Linked DNA regions of Homo sapiens: region 1 is linked to region 2. Evidence: promoter capture Hi-C in human tissues and cell types (Jung and others, 2019). All regions are on one chromosome and are shown on one strand. The core of a region is centred on a gene start or on the middle of the fragment in contact, and the rest is flanking DNA. Distances in the headings are between cores, read along the strand shown.

Region 1 (3,662 bases), core at 741-3,240, 120 kb after region 2:
CCACGTAGCCCAGAAAAGAATGTGACCCACATCTGGGCAAACTGCACCCAGAGTCTTCCTGAATCCAGCCCCAATGCATACAGATGAGAAGAGGAGGCCCTTGTAAGGTCACAGCAGCCCTTACACACTGGGTCCTCCCTGTTCCCCATCCCTTGTCAATCACTGCACCAGCACATTCCTCTTAGGCCATCGCCCTTTCATTAGGGGCCTTGTGTTCTGTCCCATGCTGTCTTTCTGCAAGTAGCCCAAGGGCTGGGTGCAATCTCTCTCACTCACCTATCCCTCCAGCACCTGCTCAGGATCCACCCCTGGTCAGAGCCTGGGTCATGTAGCCCCAGTGAGCTCCATAAACCAAGGCTCAAGGGGGCAAGTCAGTGCCCACAGCCACCCGGGTAGCCAGTTCTGCCTGGCTCCAGAGTCCTAGCCTTTCCTGAACACCATCCCGAGGCCTCCCCACTGCAGATCTGTGGGTGAGCAGGCATGAGAGGAAGGGCAGGTAGGAAAGTTGGGGGGCTCACCATTTCTCCACCAGCACCTTGCAGGCCTTTGCTTGTGCAAACAGCTGATTCACCCGGGTCTCTTCTGTGTCAAAGTGCTTCCTGTAGAAGGACTGAACAGAGAAGAGGGGGATGGAGTGGCCACCACCCAGGCTGCCTTCACTCCATTTAGATGAAGGAAATAAAGAGCGTGTTACAGAGGCAGAGACAGCAGGAGGGCAGAGGAGCCCCACCTGCCAGGGCAGACGGTACATGCAGCAAGCCAGATCAGAAAGCTGTCTGTCCTAAGCAGGAGCAGGGAAGCAGGACCACACAGAGGCATGAGGATGATGCTTGAGAGAGGGGTGGGCAGCTGGGCTCAGGTCAGCTCTCTGGGGAGGATCGATCACCCTTGGGCTTGTACACTCTGGCAGGCATGAGCAGGAGCCCGTAGCGAATAAGCAAGGGGGATGAGGCTGAACCACCTGGGACAGCTCAGCTACAGCTTGGCTTAGCTAGGTGTCGTCCACGGAACACACTTTGCTGGCATGGCTATGTTGGCATTATTTTTCAAAAGGCAAAAAAAAGAAAAGATGGTATTTTGGTTTTCTTCTAGACTACCAATTATATAGCTTAAAAGCTGGCTCTCCTGGTGAAAAGTAAAAAAATGTGCAAATGATGGCCGGATGAGGTCAGTGATGTTCTCAGAGGCCCTGGGCCTGCCTTGTGCTGAGGACAGTAGGAAAGAACGTAGGAAGTGGCCTCTGCACATTCTGAGGGCTGTAGAAGGCAGGTGGACAGGAGCCAGGACTCAGTACTCAGATCCTCTGGGCAGGCCCGACTGCAAGGGCACCTGCTCTGACTGGCTCCCAAATCCTGCCTATAGCCTCTCTGCTGCTGCTCCCTGGTCTCTGCACACCTGGGTATCTACCTGGGTGTCTAGCCCTTGACTGTTCCCTCTTCCAACTACTGGAACCAGGTGGCCTTATACCTCTGTGTGGCCCCACATGGGAAGGCCTGGTGGCTGGTCGCTCACCTGGTTCTTGTAGCCCTTGTCGACACCCAGGGTCTGGGTACAGAAGCGGTGCCTCACGCCAAAGTGGTGCATCAGGTAGGCCAGGTCGATGGTCCAGATGCTCCTGGTCAGCTGCAGCTTCTGCAGGGCTCTCTCAAACTCACTGTCGTCCAGCTGGCCCAGGTACCTGCAGGTAGACGAGCTGGGGAGCTCAGCTTGGTCTTGAGGGTCAACTGGTCTGAGTCACCCTCCACCCACTGGCCCAAGAGCCCCGTCACAGGTCCCATTCCCCAGAAGTCTCCCTCCTTCATCATGAGACCCTAGGTCCTGCCCACACACTGCCCAGGCTGCTTGGGGCACCGTCCTGGCTCCAGAGTTGCAGGCCTGGACTCTGCTTCTCAAATCTATTGTGTCTTGTGGGCTGTGACCTTGAGCAAGTCATTGTCTTCTCTGGCCTCTTTAGCTTCATCTCTAAAATAAGGTCCCTGATCACATCAGTGGTTTTCAAAGTTTTAGGCAAAGAACGCTTTTGTTGAATTTTCTCTTGCTGAGATTCCCAGGATGTAAAACAGATGAAGATGCAGCTGCCCTGTGGTTCCAGGAAGCCAAATGAAAAACTCTTGTACAAGGTGACGGCTACAGTCCCTCTTGGCTCTCACTGTCCAGGTTTCTGTGATATTCACACAGCCTCAGCTTAACGGTCAGCACCCCATTCTCCCAGGAGCCAGAAACTGGGGAGTGGAGGGCCTCCTATCCCAGTCACAGAACTGCCTTGTAGGACAGGCCTGGGCACCTGGGACTTCCTGGCCACCCCAAGCCCCCAGACATTACTATCATGGAGAGCTGGAAGGCCTGGTCCACCCCTTGCTCACTTTTGCAGATGGGACTAGGACCAGGTAGAAGCTTGGCCTCCTGCAAGCCCCAACCAAAGATAGCTACATGGACCATGGATCCCACCCAGGTCTCTCCCAAGCCAGAGCAGAAGATGTAGATGGGAAGCACCTGGGCCCCCAGCCCTGGCCCCACTCACCGCAGCACCATCCTGGAGCAGGCCAGGCCACAGTCCCAGTGGTAGAGCTGCTGGATGACGGGCACAGGCAGTTGCACAAAGTCCCCTGTGCAGAAACAGAGGGAGGTCACAGACCCTCAGCGCAGAGCCCACCACTCCCACCCTCATGGGAGCCAGTGTCACTGCCTCCTGCCTAGACCCTGCAGGGGCTGCTCAGGGACCTTCCCACAATCCTTCAGGAATCCCCTCAAATCCAGGCTCCTATAATAGCAGTGATCTCCCCAAAACACCGGCCAGAGCAGGTCAGCCCAACTGAAAATCCTCCAGTGAGCTGGGTCCCACATTCCTTAAGACAATACCTCCATGGCTGCTGCCCTAGCACCCTCTGCACCCTTGCCTTTGCTTGTCATAATCCCTCACACCCTGGAGGTCTTTGCACACCTGGTTCCTCTGCCTGGACATACCTGGCTTCCCAGGTGCCTGAGCTAACTCCTGCCCTTGGATGTCACTTCTCCAGTATTGCCCCTCTCAGGCCCAGTGACCCACATGTGCATTCACTTCCCACCATGCCTACTCAAAGCCCTTCTTTTGGTGGGAGCTCTGAGGAGGAGGGACAGAGTCTTTTTCTTTTTTTTCAACAGGGTCTTGCTCTGTCGCACAGGCTGGAGTGCAGTGGCATGATCTCGGCTCACTGCAACCTGCGATTCCCGGGTGGCAAGTAATTCTCCTGCCTCAGCCACCCAAGCAGCCTGTAGTCCACAGGCGTGCGCCACCATGCCCAGCTAATTATTGTAATTTTAGTAGAGATGGGGTTTCACCATGTTGTCCATGGTTCCATGGCTGGTCTCGAACTCCTGACCTCAGGTGATCCACCTCAGCCTCCCAAAGTGCTGGGATTACAGGCGTGAGCCATTCCGCCTGGCCAGCAGGGGCTGTTTTGTTTCCTGCTTTCATTCCAGGGCTGGCACATGGGAGGCACTCAGCAGATAATGTATCTGAGTTCATGAGGCCCCTGGAGGTTTGCTTGACTCCAAAGACCCCAGGACCACCAGGGTGTGAGACCATGGCCAGGAGAAGGGAACTGTCACGTAAGCTATGAAGCATATGTAATATTCTTGTGAGCTCCATCCCCCACCAACCCTGGGCGACCTCTCGGTCTGTC
Region 2 (3,570 bases), core at 791-3,290:
TGCTCCTTGCCTCAGGAAGCCAGGGGCAGCCCAGTCACCTCTGGCCAGAGGCGGGCCTTAGGCCAAGGCTGACCTGGCTGGTCTGAGAGCTGTGCTGGGCTTCTTCCCATATCAGTCTGTGAATTACAGATCCCCAAATATGCCCTGCGTCGCGATGGAGGAGGGCAATCAATGGCAATGACTGCCTCATGGGCAACGCGATGTGCTGGAGATTTCAGTGCTCTCGTCTGGGTTCTGGTCTTGCCTCCTCGACCCACTCGCTGAGCAGGTTGCTGTCCCGGGGAATCTGATATCTCATCTGTAGAACAAGGATGATGATCTTAGCAATGCCTAATGTGGAAAGGCCTTGGCTTGGGAGCAAGTGGGGGAAGGTTTAGGGCAGACCAGAGGGCCGGTGAGGGGTGTGTGCTGGAGCGGGGAACCCGGGAGGGAGGGTGTTAGGCTTGAGGGTCAGGGGACACCACAGGGATTGCTGTTGGCAGAGGGACATATGAATGGTAGTTGGCCTGGGAGCCAGCATGTGACTTGAGAGCATCACGTCCTGCAAAGTCCAGGTGAGGCCTGGGCAGTGCCTGCTGTGTGGGACCACAGCCCCTGGTGGCTCTCAGCTGTGTCCTGACACTCCAAAGAAGGTCTTAGTACCCTCTCACAGACCTAATACCCGAGCCACCTAACCCCAAATGAGCTAGAACTGCCTTCCCAACCGTGTTTGCGGGGTCTGTCTTGTCTATTGCAGCGCAAACAGAGCCCTGAGCACGCAGGAGAGCAGAGGAAGGACAGACAGAAGATGGATGGATGGATGAAGGCGGGAAGCACAGGCTGAGGGGATTTAGGGCATGTGTGGTGGGGGTGCTGTGGAGAGGAGACTGCACAGGCAGGAGCTGAGCTGGTGAATGGGAGGGTTCTAGCTCCCAGAAGGGTCTGGGCCATTGACAGGAGGGGCTTGGTCCTAGGAGGTGGGTGGTCCAGAGGTTGCAAGGAGCAGAGGAGCCCAGATGGGGAAGGGAATGGAGCTGGGGTGCAGAGAGGAGCCCCCACACAACTGCCCACATCCTGTGCAGAACCTGGGGCTCTGGGTGGTGGGAAGAGGCAGTTTCATGGCGGAGGAGGCCTGGGCCCCTGCAGCCTGGACTCCATGGATCTGGCCAGGGACTGGGGAGGATCAGGTGGAGAGAGGAGCAGCAGAGCAGCTGCCCCTCGTCCCAGCACAGGGGATGATGGGAGCCCAGGGAAGGCAGGACCCTGGCTTCGGGCATTTTCTCTGCTAGAATCTCTCGATACCTCTCTCCCTTCACCTTCTCCTCCAAGTCTCACCCAGATGATGTTTCTGTGAGTTGCCATGGGGATTCTCTCACCACCCCCCGCCAACACCCCGCAGGGGAAGCTTGTTCCAGGAGTCACTGGGCAGGGGCTGCTGCTGCTCTTCTGTGCCCACTCCTCGGATGTGCCGCTGCAGCCCTGGTCTCTGGCATCGGCCGTCACCTGGTGGAGAGGCTGCCGGAGCTGGCCAAGCAGAGGGAGGCCGATGGTGCCACTTGGTGTCTCCTCTGGCATCTGGGCAGGAGACTTCTCCCCAGAGGCCCCGGGCTGGTCTGCCCGTGTCACAGGAGGACTCGCCTCTGGTCCCTCAGTGGCCTCTGCAAACCCTGAGCCAGCCTGGGGGAGGCTGCTCAGTGGGGAAGAAGCAGTGGCCAGGCTCTGCTTGGTCACCCTGCCCTCCTGTCAGCCTCCGGGGCTGCCTCGTCGCACCTGCCCAGGGACCCAACAGCCGGTCCTCACCCCTCCCATCCTCATTGCAGCCACCCTGGGGCATTGTGAGGCCCTGCACCCAGCACTGCCCCTTCAAGCCTCCCACAGGGTCCCGCCCAGGACTCCTGGGCTCTGTGTCCGCGGGGCCATCTAGAAACACTCCCTTGTCCCCCCTTCAGCGGCATAGTACCTGTTGCCCGCCATCTGAGGGAGGTGCAGGTGCCAATCCTTCACGTGACGTGACGTGGCTCACCACAGCCTGTGTACATGTGAGCAGCCGCGTGCAGAGGGGAAGCTCTGCCTGGGCCTCAGGGACTGTGACATGGAGCAGGAGCCGCCCCCAGCCAAGCTGCTTTCAGCACAGCGTGGGCCCCCAGCACCTTGGTGCGGGGTGCGGCCCCTCGGAGGAGGGCTGTCAGGTGAAGCCTCGTGTGAGGGGGTGAGTGGCCCCCAGGCGGGGAGGAGGGGGTGCTGTGGCCTTCCTGGCCCCTAGCCTGGACACATGGGGGTGTGGGGAGCAGGAGCTGGGGCCCCCAGCACTGGCCCCGGGGCTGCGATGTGGGGGCTGCTCTGTGAGGCAGGCTCAGAGCCTTAGCCTCCAGCTGCAGGGAGCTGGGTCTTGGCCCCATCTTGCCCACATCCTGCCACCAGGAGCAGAGAGCTGCAGCTGCACCCGGGCTGTGGGGGAGGGATGCCAGGTGTATCTCTGGGTCCCGGGCCCAGCCTGCACCCAGCGCCTGAAGTAAGGGCCACCGGGCAGCCCCGGAGGTCAGGAGGGAAGTGGAGCCCGTGCTGGGTGGCTGCTTACCACTGGGCAGTGAGGAAGGCACCTGCGCTGATGAGTTTGGAAGGGGTATGGGGATCCTGGGGCCCTGGGTTCTGGGAGGTTCATGCCCAGGCCCCCCTGGGCCATCCCAAAAGCCAGTCATAGTGGGGCCCACAACCTGCCGTGCCCTGCCGAGCTCCCGCAAGCCACTTGTTGATGCTTCTCAGTCCACCCCATGCCTCTCAACCGTTTCCTCCTAGACTAGGTCTCTTCATGGCGTTTCTGGGAGAATTCCTCAGTACTAGCTTCAGATCCCCAGTCGTCTCTTCCACTGTACGTGTGCCTGAAGCTCACCACATCCCTTACTTCAGTCCTTCTATTTTTCAGTCCCTGGATTTTGTATTATTTCTTGTTCATATCCACCTGTCCTTGTTTCATTTCCGCCAGTCGGTTCAGAAGTTCTCATTCTTGTCTACGGATGCCATTCCTTTCTTTGCCTCTTTGGAGATTCTAAAGGTCTCTGAAATCATTATTAGATTACTGTATTACCTTCCTTCCTACTGGAATGAATTCACCTCCATGTTTTTTATTCTGTTGCTTACCTTTCTTAGCCTTCATATACCTCTTGCGCTTTGAAATTGATTTGCGACTCCTCTTAGCTGAGCCAATGTTGTGGAGACAGGGAGTGGCCTGCAGTGCCTGAAACTGCAGGGCAGCAGCCGCCTCCCAGGAATGTCCTGGGTCCTTTCCTCCTTTGAGGTCCCCTGCCATATGCTCAGATGGGGCCAGGCACAGCAACGGGGGCACACCTCCCTTTGGCCCAGCAGTTGGGGTGCTGCCAGGCCTGGTGGAGGTACTTGGTAAACATTTGTTATGGAAAAGCAGCAGGAGGGTTCTAAGGCTGGGATTCTGGAGCCCAGGAACAGGCCAGGCATGGCTGGAGCGGGTCCGAGTCCGTGCACTGTGTCCTGTATGTTGCTCTTAGCCGCACTCAGGAGCAGATGTGCAGGTCACTGCCTAGAAGCTGGTGGGCACCTCCGTGCAGCAGGCTCTGG

The links. Contacts are between HindIII fragments. The study calls those that stand out against the background at their distance.
Region 1: a contact is called between a fragment that was not itself captured here and the fragment with the promoter of ADORA2A in region 2, in 2 of the 25 tissues and cell types used here (lymphoblastoid cells and spleen).

The regions. Positions count from the first base shown.
Region 1 is chr22:24,546,396-24,550,057 of GRCh38, forward strand. GUCD1 (guanylyl cyclase domain containing 1) reads right to left here. Exons shown (of 6, transcript NM_001284254.2): 2 at 2,522-2,606; 3 at 1,513-1,678; 4 at 519-610. Among named protein-coding and RNA genes, the nearest start is that of GUCD1, 6.9 kb to the right of the region's middle. The HindIII fragment of the contact is 3,805 bases long and covers 89-3,662 here.
Region 2 is chr22:24,425,559-24,429,128 of GRCh38, forward strand. It overlaps ADORA2A (adenosine A2a receptor), which reads left to right and starts at 2,041. Exons shown (of 3, transcript NM_000675.6): 1 at 2,041-2,188. The region is part of intron 18 of SPECC1L-ADORA2A (SPECC1L-ADORA2A readthrough (NMD candidate)); the gene reads left to right. RefSeq lists an enhancer at 1-60 and a silencer at 2,122-2,231. The HindIII fragment of the contact is 18,723 bases long and covers 1-3,570 here.